4 separate regions of the Homo sapiens genome follow, and regions 1, 2 and 4 are each linked to region 3. Evidence: promoter capture Hi-C in 16 types of primary human blood cells and fetal thymus (Javierre and others, 2016). All regions are on one chromosome and are shown on one strand. The core of a region is centred on a gene start or on the middle of the fragment in contact, and the rest is flanking DNA. Distances in the headings are between cores, read along the strand shown. Region 1 overlaps NCAPG (non-SMC condensin I complex subunit G). Region 2 has its middle 38 kb from the start of LCORL. Region 3 holds the start of LAP3 (leucine aminopeptidase 3). Region 4 overlaps LCORL (ligand dependent nuclear receptor corepressor like).

Region 1 (3,799 bases), core at 391-2,890, 260 kb after region 3:
TAATAGTAGAAAGAATAGAAATTGACCTAATAAAGAATTATGGGTACAAGAATCTAAAAGAAAGAGCTTGAGAGGCAAGGGAGATGGAGGAGTCCAGGAAAACTCTAAGTATGTGTAACAGCAGACTTCAAAGGAGCTGTTGACATAGTTTAATTGGGGAGTACTCTCATGATCAGTGTCTTGGAAGAGTAAGGGAAAAGTAGATTGGGGCATAGCCCTAAGTTCAACTACTGCTATGCAAACAAAGGCCCCAGCCAATCCCATAGGGAGTTCCGGAACTGGGATGTTCCTTTGAGTTGTCCAGAATGGAGACAAGCTGAAACACTGTACTTGTGCACGGGCCAGTCATTGGATTTGGACAAATCTTTGGGAGAAGAGGTATGATCTTGGACAAGGTCCACCAAAGTCCACCATTGTCAGCCTGGATCAGTACTGCAGCTGGGAACTTTTACCCTCCAAAACATGCAGCAACTGGGGGATGAGTGCATCTTTCCTAAAGGGAGTGGAACTGGGCCCTATATCACAACATCCACAACAAGAAGTCAAGAAGGGGAGCTTATTTTGGGGGTAGGGAGGATGTTAAATTTGGTTTTAGACATTTTATATTTGGGATTATGGCAAGAAAATTAGTTGGAAATATTTGTTAGATGTGTAAGACTATATAATAATCATAATCATCTTCAATTTACAGAGAATTTTCTCTTAATTTTTTAGGCCTTAACAGTACATGACAATTTGGCTATGAAAATTTGCAATGAGATCTTAACAAGTCCGTGCTCGCCAGAAATTCGAGTCTATACAAAAGCCTTGAGTTCTTTAGAACTCAGTAGCCATCTTGCAAAAGATCTTCTGGTTCTATTGAATGAGATTCTGGAGGTAAAGTAGTTTCTCATTACTCTAAATTAGTTTGTGTTTATATTTATACATGTAGAATTTACATGGTTGTATTAGATTATACATATGTTAGCATATTGTGACTTATTTGAAGTATTTTCTTCATAAATTTCATATAATTTAGTGTTTTTAAACAACTTGATATGTATTGGTACTATTTTCAAAGATTAGGGAATGCGGTGTTTACAAAATGTTAATAATGTTTTCTTTTATAGCAAGTAAAAGATAGGACATGTCTGAGAGCTTTGGAGAAAATCAAGATTCAGTTAGAAAAAGGAAATAAAGAATTTGGTGACCAAGCTGAAGCAGCACAGGATGCCACCTTGACTACAACTACTTTCCAAAATGAAGATGGTAATCACATACTGAACAGAATATTTATAAGGTTCTGTTTTTTTTTTTCCATCTTTACTGAGACATATTTTTTTCTACTCTAACATGTTTGGTTGGACATCAGAAATGAATGAAATTTTTTTTCTAATTAATCCTCTTGGGAAAGAGCATTACTGATAAATGTTTATTCTGCTTTTCAAGTGTTTTTTGGCATGCATTTCTCAACATATGACCATCTTTTTAAGAGTTTTGCTTCTTTTTCCAATATTCAAATTTTCGAAAGGGTGATTTATAACTTTTCACTAGCTGCTAGAAGGACTTTGTCATTTCAGTTTTATAAAAACTGGTCTTAAAAAGACAATTTAAAATATTTCATGAGGTTATCTTATTTATATTGTTGTATTATTCCCTTTAATAGAAAAGAATAAAGAAGTATATATGACTCCACTCAGGGGTGTAAAAGCAACCCAAGCATCAAAGTCTACTCAGCTAAAGACTAACAGAGGTAGTGTGTGGATTGACCATCTTTATGATAAAAGTTTTAAATTTTATCTTCCAATGAAAAATACTTGTTTTGCAAGTTTTCTTATCTTTGTTTCCTTAGGGATAAAGATTTTTTTTAAAATGTCTTTGGTATCCTTTCTTTTTAATTCTTTCTGTGGATGTCAGTTTTTGCCTTGTGTCTAAAGATTATAAAATCAGTGTTGCTCTTGGTGCTTTAGATTGAAAGAAGTATGATGCAAAAGATATTACAAAAGACAATTTGGGTTAAATTAAGATTTGGTTAAATGATGGTTTTATATTAGTTATTTGTGTTCTATCCTTCCTGTAACTAAGCATTTTTAAAAAATCCCTGTAGTATTTTTCTGGGCTTTGTTTTCCTTCTATTCCCATCTTATTTCATATTTTCCCAACTTATTTCCCAAGGGCTATCCAACAATAGGGGATCTGTTGGCAAAGTAAATGCTGACTATTAGGGGGTCACTTGGAAAAAAATCTGAAATTCAAGATCTTTTTATTGTTTTATTATTTCCTCATTACAAAAGCAATGCATGCTTATTACAGAAGAATCAGAAAGTACATCCAGACAAACTACTATAAGGAACACTAATAATCCCACCCATGAGCCAACCATGATTTTGATTTTAGAAATCTATTTTTTAAGGCCCTTTTCGATGCAGATTTAATTTTTTCTAAAATGGAGTCTGGTCATAATATTGTTTTGTAACCAGTAAATTATTTAAATACCAATTGCTGGATATTGTTCCAAATTAGTCCCATATTGTTGGATGTTTTCTTGGGGATAAATGCATTAGTAAAAGCAGGTAAGGAGTAGAAAAAAGTGTAACATGAATGAAGTAGAGTATATAATTTTCAGACTGTCACATTGAACAGTTTGGTTTTGATCAGATTTTTTTTGTGGTATATCACACCATGAGAACACCATCCTTTTTAATAGACCAAACTTCATATATTCATATTGTTTTATTCCTTATAAATGAGAAACATCACAAGCCAAACTTTGTCTTACTCCTTAACCTTGTAAATTTCTAGTAAGTAGAATCTTATAATCCCCAGTATATAAAGGTTCTAGTTTTTACATTGAAATATATTTTAGAACACATTTGAATTGGTCATGTATGTTATTTTACAAGAAGCCATTATTACCTTACTATGTTTTATCACCTTCCAAGAAAAAAAAAAGTTGTTTCTTTAGCACCTGTTTATGCACCTAACCTACCTTTCTAACCCTTAATTTTCATGAGTCTCCACAGACTTTGTGCTATAGCAATAATAGAGGTACTTCATTATAACACATTTTTCATATACTGTCCTCAAATACATTGAACTAAAATTTGCCTTCTTTTAACTTGCTTGAAATTTCCTTATTTTCCCTTACTCATTATTAGTGCTTACAAAATAAATTAAGTTTTAATCTTGCTTGGGTTCCTTTTTCTGTGGCAGTGATAACTGGTACCAAGATGGCTAGAACAAGTAGGAGATACATGTGTTGAAAGGATTGTTGTGTTGAAGACAAAGGATTTAGTTAGCCTAGAAACTAGATTAAAAACAAAAAGCAACTGATAATAAATCCTGATAATGAATTATACTATCTTCAAGGACAGAGAAAAGTGACAGTTTCAGCTAGGACGAACAGGAGGTGTCAGACTGCTGAAGCCGACTCTGAAAGGTATGTCATGCATGTCTAGAATATATGGAGGCCTATCTTCACTTTTTATTTCTACAAGTAGAAAAAAACTAATTTTCTTGCGAATGAGAGAGAATATATAACAAGATAGTGAAAACTATAAATAGCTGTCTTAGGTATATAGTCTAAAATTCCATCATCAAGAGCATTTGACTTCTTACGGCGTGTTTGCTTTTGCCTATTAGCTGGCATGGTCTTTAGTACTATCTTTAATATGTTGTTTCAATTTTTAATTACATGATGTGACTCCTCTTTGATCTTCAGTTAGCAAACTCTTGATTTTGATAATATTTGGGTTCTCTACACTTACATACTGATAGAATAATTCTGTCTATAATTTGGGTATATTGTGTGGTAGAGTGT
Region 2 (3,816 bases), core at 34-2,533, 480 kb after region 3:
CCCTGTCTCTACTAAAAATACAAAAAAAATTAGCTAGGCATGGTGGCCCACGCCTGTAAACCCAGCGACTCTGGAGGTTGAGGCATGAGAATTGCTTGAACCCGGGAGGCGGAGGTTACAGTGAGCTGAGATCATGCCGCTGCACTCCAGCCTGGGTGACAGAGCGAGATCTTGTCTCAAAAACAAAACAAACCAAAACCAAAACCAAAACTTCCTGCTGGTTACTATTTTGGAAGCCTGTGGTTTCTTTGTAGTTCAAAGTATTACTTGTAGTTTGCACCCCAAAGCTTGGGATTCTCAAATTGACACAGAAGACCAGATTTTCCTTTTGACGAAGCTGTTTTTGAGACAGGATACAAAAGTTCCTTTATTTTTGCAACTGCTCTGAAAATCTTACAAAATATTATAATATTTAAGGTTAGGTGATCCAGAAAACAAACAAAAACATCTTATATTTTTCATGAACTAAAAACTAGTTCTGCTACTGTTGTACAAAATGATAAAATCTTTCCAGTTAACTCCTCAATAAAAAGAAACAGCTTTTGAATTAAGGTTTTAAAAAAATCTATATTATCTTGGGCCAGAAGAAAACAATGGCAGACCAGGGAGATGATAACTGCGCAAGAGATGTGTGAAACAGCAAAGAGAATCATGTCAGCCCCCTCGGGCTCTTCTTTCCATCCCCCTCCACACAAATACCTCATCACTAGGACACTTTTGACTGAAAGAAAATGCTATTAAAATTGTATATTTTTTAATTTTTAATTTATATCTGGTATATATTGGTCAGTCTGCCCCTAAAAAACAGGAGTAGGGTTCAGTAAGGTACATTTTAGAACAGTTAAAGAATTTTTAAAATTCCTCTTCCACTCTCACAGTTGAGCTTTGACTACCTGTATTAGCAAAATGGTATGCAAATTTAGTTGCTTTCTTGTTCAAAGACAGCAAGAATAAGAAATGCCTTTCAGTATGTGTTAGAGTGATACTTCCATTAACCCTTGTGTTTTAGCTCTTTCAAATGTCTCAGCATTATAGATAAGTGGTTGACAGAAGGAAGTCTTGCCAAATATGCAAATGAGAGAAACAATTACAATAAAAGGTTATTTTATATAAAAATGAATGTATTCTATTTCTTAAGGGAAATAAAAAGGAAGTTCAATTTAAAAAGATATTTTTATAAGAATTAATATGAATATATATTTTCAAAGTATTTAACATCTTTCCCCAGTTGCTTTTCATGAATCTCACCATTGCTTGGTACTGTACTTTTTGTTCCATTTAATTAATTTTTTTCTGTGTTGCTATTTCTCACTGGTTAATAATTGGCAAATTTATAAAAAAATTAAAATGACCTTAAAAAGATAAAAATTTATAAAAGAAGAACATTTATTTTAAAAGATGCAAAGCTGACTATTCTGTAGATTAAAAAACAGAGATTTTTCTCCCTCATGAAATGAAGGATATACTGAGCGTATTAGTCAGCATTCTCCAAGCAGACAAAACCAATAGGATATATCTATTAATGTATTTGTCTGTCTCTATCTCTCATCTCTCTTTATGTCTATCTATAGATAAATATGTTAGGGAAAATTTATTAGGGGAATTGGCTCATGTGATTATGGAGGCTGAGAAGTTCCAAGACAGCCCTCTGCAAGTTGGATGCTGGAAGCATGGCTCAGTCCAAGTTTGAAGGTCTAAGAACCTGTGGGGGCCACTGATATAAGTCCTAAAGTCCAAAGGCTGAAGAGCCTGGGTTTCTGATGTACGAGGGCTGGAGAAGAAGAGTGTATCCTGGCTCAAGAAGAGAGAGGGATCAATTTGCCTTTCCTCTGTTTTCATTCTGTCAGGGCTCCCAGTTATTTGGATCATGTCTGCCTATATTGAGGGTGGATCTTCTCCACGTAGTCCACTCACATTCACATGCCAATCTCCTCCAGAAGCAACCTCACAGACACACTCCTTAAAATAATACCAGTTATCTAGCTATTTCTTAATTCAGTCAAGTTAATACCTGAAATTAATCATCACACTGAGATTTCTACAGAAGATTCCAAAAGCACCCAGGAAAATAATTCATTATTTTTAAATTTAAAAAATACACAAAGTGAGATTTAATACCCAGAAAAATGGCTGACACAATAACATAAATACAGATTCCCCTCTTTTTAAGAATTTAAGGATGCTAGAACTGACAGACTATATTTAGAACATTTTAGATATTGAAAGAATAAGGAAAGCAGCTGGTAAAGTTTAAAGAATATAGTTGGAACTACACTTTTCAAGCTTTTAGATGGCTCACTTGGTTTTTATTTATGAAAAATTATATATTATTTAAAACTTTGTACTCTACTTGAGGACAAACAAAATAGTCAATTCTTGTTATTCATGGTAAAGTTCTGTAAACATCGAGTTAGCAAATACAAAACTATTACTCCCGGGAAATACAGGATTAGGTTCCTGAAAGCCTCTGGTCACATTTTCATCAGTTGATCAATACATAACATTGTTGTATGTTCATTTCTGTTTAAAAACACCCCATTTAATATACATTGCTAGTTCATTAACATTGAACTCAGTGGCTGACAGTACTATAACTCATGTCTGAATGAAGCTTCGCTAACATACCTGTCTTCTCTGTGAGGCACATCACAACCTCCTTGCACTTAGAAACACTAGACAACACTTCAGTACTATGCTTGGGGACCATATTAAACAAGGAGATTACAAAAAAAAAAAAAAAAAGCACAAAAATCGGCACTAAATAGACCACTAAAAAGACACATTTATAGTATGACAGCTGAAAAAGAAGACAGAGATTCACCTTGTTCAACTTCAGCTGGAAATGTGTGACTCAAATTTTCACTGATCTGTGCATTCCCACAAATGACAATGAAAGTGCTTGGGGATTCCAAATTAATTTTAGGGAGTAGGCTAATTTGAAAATATGGAATCATGAATAAAATGAGATTGTATCTTGTTCACCTTTGTGTCACTACTGTCACTACTGATTGTAATATTTTCTGTCATGTGGTAGTAGTTCAATATATATGCATATATATATTGAATAAATGGAAATAGTGTTCCTTAATTTTTAAATGAACCCCATTGTATAGTCCTATTTTGTTTTACGCTCTTGAGAAGTTTGTGATAGTCTGTAAATATTCAGTTAGTTTTCAAATACAAACATTTTATAATAATATAAATGCTTGTTTTGTTAGGCTTACATTTCCCTTTGGAACTTTGAAGATATTGCTCCCTTACCTTTGGCATTTAAAATTAATACAAATTCTGATGCCACTATAAATCTCAGTCTTTTGTGGTATTAATGCCCCTCCCCTCCCTACTTTGGAAGCTTTTAGGATATTTTCTTTTGCTTGAAATTCTGAAAATTTATAATAGGTATTTATACTCCTTATAATATGTACATTAGACTCTGGAATGTTCATATCTTTTATCAATTTGGGGAAATTTTCTTCTTTTATTTCTTTGGTTGTTTCTTCTCCATTCTTTGTTATTATTTCTGAAAAATCCTATTAAATATGTTCTAAACTTCTGAATCCAGTTGAAGTATTTCCTGAAGTTTTGAAAATACATTCCTCTTTGTCCTTTTATACAGTGTTCTGGGAGTGTAAGTTGACTTACATTTCCAACTAACATATTTATTTTCAGCCATATTTATTACACTATTCAGTCCATCATTTGAAAAATTATATACATCTTAATTTTGAATTAAGTTTTATAAATGGCATGAAGGGTACACCTTCATTCTTTTGTGTGTGGATATCTAGTTGTCCCAGCACCATTTGTTGAAATGAC
Region 3 (4,264 bases), core at 1,765-4,264:
TTAGATTCTTTTTTATCCCATGATTTCTAACAGAAAAACATCTTAAGCACCTTGTAAACTTAGGGTTTGAAGGATGACTAAATCTTTCATCCCAAAGTGATCCACAATCCTGATTATTTGTAGACTGTGAAATGTACTTTTCTTTTGTACCATTAGGCATGTGAAAATGTAAATGGTGTGGTCCTTGAAGCAAAGAGAAAAGTAAATGATACACCAGAGTCTCAGGCTGGACCCGCAAGTCAATAAAACAGGTAATAAATTCAGCTGAGCAGATACAGACAAGGGTAACCTACAGCTCTGAGGCTTGGATGCCTCTGAAGCTCAGAGACCCTCTACTCACATACCAAGGAGGGGACAGGTTTTCGCATTCCATTTTTTAGTTTCAGAAACTGCGGCCTGATCTATCACGTTGGAAGGAGGGAAGAGCTGTAAAGTGAATGTAAAGATTTCGCTGTCTTTGGAGCAAATATAGATAAAATTTGGTGAGTTTATTGAGTTTATGATGCAACTCCATTTTAACTATCTAGAGAAGGTGGAAGCCAGAGTGGACCTACCAGTCCAACCCACTCAGCCTTCAAGAGAGGAAGATCAAATCTCTCCTCTGGAGTGTCTAGCTCTTGGAGAGTGAAATAGACATTCTTTCTTTCCTGCAACTGAGCTCAAGGTGAAGACTTTGCTCACTGCAGCTGGTGTAAGCCTCCCCACACCCCTGCACCTCAGCTAAAATTGCAATCAGATCAACAGTGGTGTAATTTTTTTAAAAAGAGATGGGGTCTTGCTCTGTGACCTAAGCTGGAGTGTAGTAGTACAATTATGGCTCACTGCAGACTCAACCTCCCAGGCTCAAGCAAACCTCCTACCTCAGTCTCCCCATTAGCGGGACTACAGGCACACATCTGGCTAATTTTTTAACTTTTTGTAGAGATGGGTATCTCACTACCTTGCCCAGGGTGGTCTTGAACTCCTGGGCTGAGTCGATCCTCCCACCTCGGCCTCCCAAAGTCCTGGGATTATAAGCATGAGTCACTGCACCCAGCTGGCTGGTGTCATTATTAAGAACAATTTTTGTATCCCTCCTCGTGCTTACCCATATTCTCCGAGTTGCATTCAGCTGTGTACTTTTTTACAATGAGAAATTTAAAACCAGCCGGGCGCGGTGGTTCACGCCCGTAATCCCAGCAATTTGGGAGGCCAGGGCGGGTGGATCACTTGAGGTCAGTACTTCAAGACCCACCTGGCCAACATGGTGAAACTCCATCTCTACTGAAAATACAAAAATTAGCCAGGCGTGTTGGCGGGCGCCTGTAATCCCAACTACTTGGGAGGCTGAGGCAGGAGAATCGCTGGAACCCAGGGGTGGAGGTTGCAATAAGCTGAGATCACACCAGTGCACTCCAGCCTGGGTGACAGAGCAAGACTCCGTTAAAAAAAAAAAAGTAAAAAATAAGGAATTAAAAAAAACAAAACGCTTTACAGAAAATAAAAATATATAAAAATATTGAGCACTACTTGAAAACTTTCTATTGAAACCATCCCCACTGTGTTGACAAAAATTTCATGCCAAGTTCTAGGCAGAAATATAGTTATAATTAAGCATTAATCAGGCTGTACTTTGGCCCACTTCCTTGTTGCTAAAAGTCACCTAGCACTACATACTGACCATTTGCATTCCCATTGTTCCTATAGACAGGATCTCTGACATTAGAATCATAAGCTTTCTGTTTAAGGATCGCTTAAGATATTTTTCAGACCTTGAATTCCAGCTACCAGTTTGAAGATCCCCAGAGAGGAATGGGGTCAGCTTAAGAATACAGGTTCTTCAACGCCCTGTCCCATGACTTCACCCTGCACTCTTCAATCAACGATCTCCACACTATAGCCCTCTCCAAAACCCTTAAAAACCTTGACCCCAAATTCCTCAGGGAGATGGATTTGAGGTTTCCTCCCATCTCCTCCTTTGGCGACTCCACGATTACACCTCTTTCTCTGCTGCAACCCTGGTGTCTGGGCGTATTGACTTGCTATGTGCACGAGTCAACGAACCTAATAGTGTTACATCATTTTCAAAAACAGTATTTACACCGTTGCACCTGTGGAACAGATGAAAGGACACGAATAAAAATAACTCAGGCCAGGTGCGGTGGCTCACGCCTGTAATCCCAGCACTTAGCGAGGCCGAGGCAAGTGGATCACGAGGTCAGGACTTCGAGACCAGCCTGGACAACATGGTGAAACCTCGTCTCTACTAAAAATACAAAGAGTTGCCGGGCACGGTGGCTCACGCCTGTAAGTAATCCCAGCACTTTGGCAGGCTGAGGCGGGTGTATCACCAGAGGTCAGGAGTTCAAAGCCAGCCTGGCTAACATGGCCAAACACTGTCTCTACTAAAAATACAAAGATTAGCCAGGTGTGGTGGTGGGCGCCTGTAGTCCCAACTACTCGGGAGGCTGAGGCAGGAGAATCTGTTGAACCCGAAAGGCGGAGGTTGCAGTGAGCCGAGATTGCGCCACTGCACTCCAGCCAGGGCTACAAGAGCGAGACTCCGCCTCAAAAAAAAAATCCAAAAAAACAACAAAAAAACACAAAGATTAGCTGGGCGTGGTGGCGGGCGCCCCTAATCCCAGCTACTCGGGAGGACGAGGCAGGAGAATCGTTTCAACTAAGCAGCGGGAGGTTGCAGTGAGCCGAGATCGCTCCATTGCACTCCAACCTGGGTGACAGAGCGAGACTCCGACTCAAAAAAACCAAACAAACAAACGAAAACTCAGTGGGAGTGTCTTCACTATGCAGTCGTCTATTCAGCAACCTTGACAACAAGCTCTGGCACTCAGTTTCTATTTCCCGGGAGTTGCCCAGCGCTCCGCCCACGCCCGCTTGCAGAACTCGCCCCGCCTCCGCCCCACCCATCGTGTGACGTCACCATATCGGTCCCGCCCCTCTACTTCGCGTTGCTCCCGGGACTGTCAACCGCGTCCGGAAGCCCCGCCTTTTCGCCCCCGCCCGCATGCGCGGGCGCACACGAATGCGGGCGCACACGAATGCGGGCGCACACGAATGCGGGCGCACCCTTGAGTCCCCTCCACAACCGCGGTTTGATCCCAGCGGTCCAGTCGGCCGGTGCTGCCCATCCGTCCCGCCCCCTAGACGCACGTCCGCTCGCCCGGCGCCCGAGCCAGTCCGCGCGCACGCCGTCTGCGCCCCGAAAGCCCCGCCCCAAGGCGCGCCCGCCCACCGCTCTCCACGTGCTCGCTGGAGGGCGGTGCGAGGGGCCGAGCCGACAAGATGTTCTTGCTGCCTCTTCCGGCTGCGGGGCGAGTAGTCGTCCGACGTCTGGCCGTGAGACGTTTCGGGAGCCGGAGTCTCTCCACCGCAGACATGACGAAGGTGAGAGGCGGCGGCTCGCTCATGGTCCGCCGCTGGGGCCCTGCCCGTGGGCTACTGGGGCTGCGGGGCTGGTCGAAGCCGCGGTGTCCTGGGCGCCCAAGCCAAGTTGCAAAAATCAGTTTAAAAGAAAAATTCTCTCCTTGCGGGGATCGGCCTAGGCCGCTGAGGACCCCAGCGGTCGTATTGAGGGCGCGATTCCCCTGCTCGGGGCTAGGGGGTGATGGTTGTAGCCGCCCTTTACCCGGCTCCACTCGGCCGCGCACTTGCTCCAGTCGTCACCCGCGGTCCTGGCAGTAACCCGGGGAAAGACGCGGCGGTGGGGCTCCCATCCGAGCTTGGAGGAAGCCCGAGTTTGCCAAGGTGAAAGGGTTTCTGAGGTCCCAGAGTCACAGGGCTCCTTCCCCCGCGGAAGTGAAAGGTCAGGGAGTTAAGTAGCTTGGAAGGGTTTCTAGAGGAAAAGCATGCCTCTCTAGAGAAAAGGGCTTTGGGGAGAGACCCACGTTTCCCAGAATTAAGAGCATCTTCCAGAAGAAAAGTGAACTCCAAAAAATTACGAAGGTCGCTCTTCAGATGTGAAGGATCTGCAAAGGGAATGGCTCTCGGAACCAGCACAAGCTTGGGAGTCATGCCTAAGCACCAGAAAGAGATGACTGTCCCTGCAGAAGAACGTTCTAGGGGGAGCTTGAGCTCCAGTCTCCTGCAGGTATCTCAGTGGTGGAGGGACCAGTCGCCTGACCAGTGCTATCTCCAGTACTGTGCCACAGCCTACCCAGATAACAGTTGCTCAGTTGGCTCCATTGATTCCCGGGGAGTGAACAATCTTAGGGAAGTTAGAACCTGGCAGAGTTACCAATGCCAAGGAAGGCCGTTTTCTTTGGTG
Region 4 (4,409 bases), core at 823-3,322, 430 kb after region 3:
TTCCCACAATCATCTTATGATTGTTCATGGACTCATATAAGGAAACCTCACCATTCCCCTCCTTTATGCTACAAATTTAATACTGTATATGCTTCTATTATCGCATTTATCGTATTCTGTAGTCAGAGAGCCTTGTTTTCCCCAGGAGATTGTGCTTCATGAAGACAATCTAATACACCTGAGTCTCCTAGTACAATGCCCTGTCCATAAATAATTACTGAAAAAAATTATGAGGAAGAAAATATAAGCAAAAGGATTTTAGCAGATGGCCATGCTTCTTTCAACACTGAAAATACTATTATTCTTTATATAAAATAAAGGCAGCAATTTTAGAATGGGTCTGAGGAATGAGTAGGTCAGCAGAAACTCACTCTGACAGAGGATGAAAGGATCTGTGGGCTCAGACTGTTAAGAGTGAAAAGTTAGACAAGCAAGCTAATATGTACTCATAGGCAAATTCTATTCTATTTATGTGCTATGCCAGAACACAAATACTAAAAGGTTAAGAAAGCAAAGAAGAAAAAAGTAATTATTGGGCTGATCCCAAAAGAGTAGTATGTAAAAAAAATACAGGATTTTACCAAGAAACTACTTTTCCATACCCTAAATTGGCACAGATAAGTACAAGGAAAGGAAGGTTAAAATGAAACAATTAGCTATATCCTATTAATTCATCTGCCATTCTTGAGGAAAGTTCAAAAGAGATGGAAAGGTATTGCTCATCATTCTTAGAATTAGGATAGAAGGTAACTTTATATCCAGACTAAAACTTAACACTGCAAGTCTGTGCCATGGAAAAGCCTTGCCCACTAACTCCATGTTCTCATCATCAGTTGTAAAAGCAAGAAAAAAATTAGTGGATATTTTCTCTGATTAATCCATCACAGGGGAATCCTTATCTCTGACACTGTGCATTCAAATACAGAAGTCCCGGTTCTCTCTCACTCCAGGACAGGAATAAAAGGCTGAGGAGGCCTAAACCCAGAATACTTTTTCCCACCCCTGAAACTCAAGTTCTAAAATAAAATGAAAACAGCACTACTAAAGTTTTAGATGTAACAATCTGACCAGAAAGGATGAGACTTGCTAATTTTTAAATGAGGTTTGACCTGGTATAGTGGTTAAGACTGGATGTGAATTCTACTTTTGAATTTGCTAGGCAGAAAGACTTGGGCAAGTCACTTAGCCTCTCTAAGCCTGAATTTTCTCATTTGTAAAATGAAGATAAAAATTGTACTATTTCATATGGAAAATTATATGTGATAATACATATAAAAACTTAGAATCTGCCTAACACACGGTAAGCACTCAATAAATATTATCTATCATTATTTCAAGGGGCAATTCTTGGTGCTGGAAAATCTGTAAGACAACATGTATATTACTAACTATGGTAGTTAGGGCTGAAAGTGATTAATTCACAAGAACATACGTAGACTAATGACACTGTTTTTAAATACTTTTATGTTTTAACAATCTTTAACTTAAAAGTTTTAAGTATAGTAAGGAAGACCTTTATCTTCCCAACCATTTGAGAGTAAATGTCTACATAATGACCCACCACTCTTGAATTCCTAGTATTTCCCAATTCTCTCACAAAAACAACCATTAAAATCAGGAAATTAACGGTAATACACTATGCTCACTGCTACCGTACTGCCACTGCTCCTAAGCCCCTTCTCAATGACCAGTATAGGGCATGTGTATGTATACATACACATACATTTCTATATCTATATATGATGAAAACCATGAGTTCGCACAAGTACTTCATTTCCTATCCAACACTACAGACAGCATTCTAATTTTCCCTACTTTCATATTAGTAAATCCCTTCTCAGACAATGAGAAGCCTGGCTCCCATTATTCTTAATACTGATCAATCTTCATGTACGTAACCAATCTCCCACTGTAGCTGTCTCTTTCCCTACACGGACACCCTCCTCACCTCTCTTGGCCCCAAAATCCCTACCCCATGTATATAATCTCCTTACCCTGTTCAGGTCCCTATTCCTCATGCCTGGCATCCCTCCTACAAGAATATCCTCCCTACCCTGCTCAGGCTATGAAATCCCATATTGTACCGAGCTCCACTGAGAGGCCTTCCTCCCTTTACCCTCAGGCTCTAATACCTTGGACTCAGATACCTCTATGTATGGACTCCCTCCTCATCTCACTTGAGCCTTAATATACCTACACCAGGCTGCAATCCTACATGGGTCACTCCCTACCCCCTGGTATCTACTGGGGCCCTGAGAGCTCATGCAGGATGACATCCCACCCCAAGTAGATGTCCTCCTTGCTGGGACCAGCTGACCTTCCCCCATACCAGGCCACTCTCCTTCACAGATACCATATCACCCTGCTTGGGCTCCAATACCCTGCCTTAGCATGCCTTCCAATGGAGAGGTGCTCCTTACCCTTCATTCCATCAACCCCCATGGACACCCTCCTCACCCTATAAGGTTCTGAGATCCCACTCCTCTTACATGACGATGTGGCTCTGCCTCCCACGCACCCCACCCAGTGTGGATACCTACCCTTGTTTTCTCCCACTTGATGTTTTAGTACTGAGCTGTTCAGAAAGGGAGGAGGAAGAAGACATTGAAGAACAATTAATTATATTTTAAAAAAAGAGACACCAGTGAATAAACTGTGTAAGCACCTATAATCAGAGCTAATTAAAACAACAATCTATTTGTCAGAGTACCTGCTTTTTTTCCATGTAAACAGTGCTCTATTCTTTTACACTAATTCCTTCTAAGTTTAAAAAGTTAATTGAAAATTATAATACAGAAGAGAGCACTGGGTTTCCTTCTAACCAAACATGCATTTTACTTAAGTATCTTACATAGGCCTGTGGAAAATCTAGTTAATTTAAAAAGAAGAAAAAACCCTACTAATTTTATTTTGAGAGTTTAAAAAATACAGTTGTTCCAAACACTAAAATATACATAAATGTGTGTATGGGTACATATATATATGTGTGTGTGTCTGTGTGTGTGTGTGTATATATATATGTATGTATGTATATATGTATGTATGTGTGTATATATATATATTTGAGATGGAGTCTTGCTCTGTTGCCCAGGCTGGAGTGCAGTGGCATGATCTCGGCTCACTGCAACCTCCGCCTCCCGGGTTCAAGCGATTCTCCTGCCTCAGCCTCCTGAGCAGCTGAGATTACAGGCACCTGCCACCACGCCTGGCTAATTTTTGTATTTTTAGTACAGACAGGGTTTCTGTACATGTTGGCCAGGCTGGTCTTGAGCTCCTGACCTCATATGATCTGCCTGTCTCAGCTTCCCAAAGCGCTGGGATTACAAACGTGAGCCACCGGGCCCGGCCATAACATATTTTTTAAAATATCCAGAACAAGTAAATTTGACTTGTTTTCAGAATATTAACAGTTGTATTGTTTCCAGTATACTTACCCCCAGATACAACCCTGCAAAAATTAACAGCCATGATTGTTACAATACCTTTCCCTTGCTCCTGGTTTCTATGAGGAAGGATGCATCAAAAGCACAACCTGAGCCTCTTTTTACCCTTAGCTAGTAAAGTGAATTATCCGATTGGTGATTCTGGATTTGAGGAAGAGCTCAGTTCTATTCCTCTTGCCCCTGGGGTTGAGCTTTCAAAGGAGAACAAACCTCCAAAGACTCATATTCAGCTCTGCTTCTCTACTGAGCCTAGGACTGGATGGATAAGTCAGCCTATGCCAGACCACCTGACTCCCCCATCAAGCTATTCCTCTAACCTGGCCTGTATCGGTAATAGAAAGATTATTTTGGCTTCCATCTTTCTCCTTGTTTTATTTCTCAAGTTGTTCAGAGCCCAAGCAGAATGTCTTAATACATTCAAGTGAATGAAGACTGCTCATTTTCCCAGTTTTGATTTAAAAGGGCTGCTTTAATTTGAGCTTCTTAAAACTATTGCAAACAAAAAGCCCTCAAACCTGCACCAACAACAGATGTTCCAAATGAAAATAAGCTGACTTATCTGATCATGCTTATTACCCATTTTAAAAAAAAAAAAAAAACAACTTCAAAGGCTTACAATTTCCTCCTTGTAGAAGCTATAATTTATACTTCCAGTCCTACTTTCTGCTGCTAACCTATAAACCAATGGCACTGTAATGCTAAATATTTTCAGAATATATCATTATTTATACTTAAATATATTTGCTTATACTATCTCTGCCCATTCCCTCCACTCTACTTTCCTGCTGTATCCTTTATCCCAGAGATCAGCAAACTATGGTTTATAGGCCAAATCCACCTATTTTTATAAATAAATGTTACTGAAACGCAGCCATGCTTATTAATTTATGTCTTTCTTTTGGACTACAACAGTGGAGGTGAGTAGCTGCAATAGAGACCAGATGGCCCACAAAGCCTAAAACATTT

What was found. Contacts are between HindIII fragments. The CHiCAGO score rates a contact against its expected background, and 5 or more counts as called.
Region 1: a fragment that was not itself captured here is called in contact with the fragment with the promoter of LAP3 in region 3 in 1 of 17 cell types (neutrophils); the score reaches 5.7 in neutrophils.
Region 2: a fragment that was not itself captured here is called in contact with the fragment with the promoter of LAP3 in region 3 in 4 of 17 cell types (fetal thymus, total B cells, naive B cells and 1 more); the score reaches 7.3 in fetal thymus.
Region 4: a fragment that was not itself captured here is called in contact with the fragment with the promoter of LAP3 in region 3 in 5 of 17 cell types (total CD8 T cells, non-activated CD4 T cells, fetal thymus and 2 more); the score reaches 7.2 in total CD8 T cells.

What each region holds. Positions count from the first base shown.
Region 1 is chr4:17,838,962-17,842,760 of GRCh38, forward strand. It overlaps NCAPG (non-SMC condensin I complex subunit G), which reads left to right. Exons shown (of 21, transcript NM_022346.5): 17 at 715-876; 18 at 1,110-1,248; 19 at 1,646-1,732; 20 at 3,349-3,418. LCORL (ligand dependent nuclear receptor corepressor like) reads right to left here. Exons shown (of 8, transcript NM_001394446.1): 8 at 2,226-3,799. Among named protein-coding and RNA genes, the nearest start is that of NCAPG, 30 kb to the left of the region's middle. The HindIII fragment of the contact is 4,850 bases long and covers 1-3,799 here.
Region 2 is chr4:18,057,375-18,061,190 of GRCh38, forward strand. No RefSeq gene overlaps it. Among named protein-coding and RNA genes, the nearest start is that of LCORL, 38 kb to the left of the region's middle. RefSeq lists an enhancer at 121-280. The HindIII fragment of the contact is 1,996 bases long and covers 286-2,281 here.
Region 3 is chr4:17,574,184-17,578,447 of GRCh38, forward strand. It overlaps LAP3 (leucine aminopeptidase 3), which reads left to right and starts at 3,015. Exons shown (of 13, transcript NM_015907.3): 1 at 3,015-3,384. The coding sequence starts at 3,283. RefSeq lists enhancers at 2,663-3,022, 3,363-3,562 and a silencer at 3,083-3,292. The HindIII fragment of the contact is 2,285 bases long and covers 1,713-3,997 here.
Region 4 is chr4:18,007,404-18,011,812 of GRCh38, forward strand. All of the region lies in intron 1 of LCORL (ligand dependent nuclear receptor corepressor like), which reads right to left. Among named protein-coding and RNA genes, the nearest start is that of LCORL, 12 kb to the right of the region's middle. The HindIII fragment of the contact is 5,084 bases long and covers 1-4,409 here.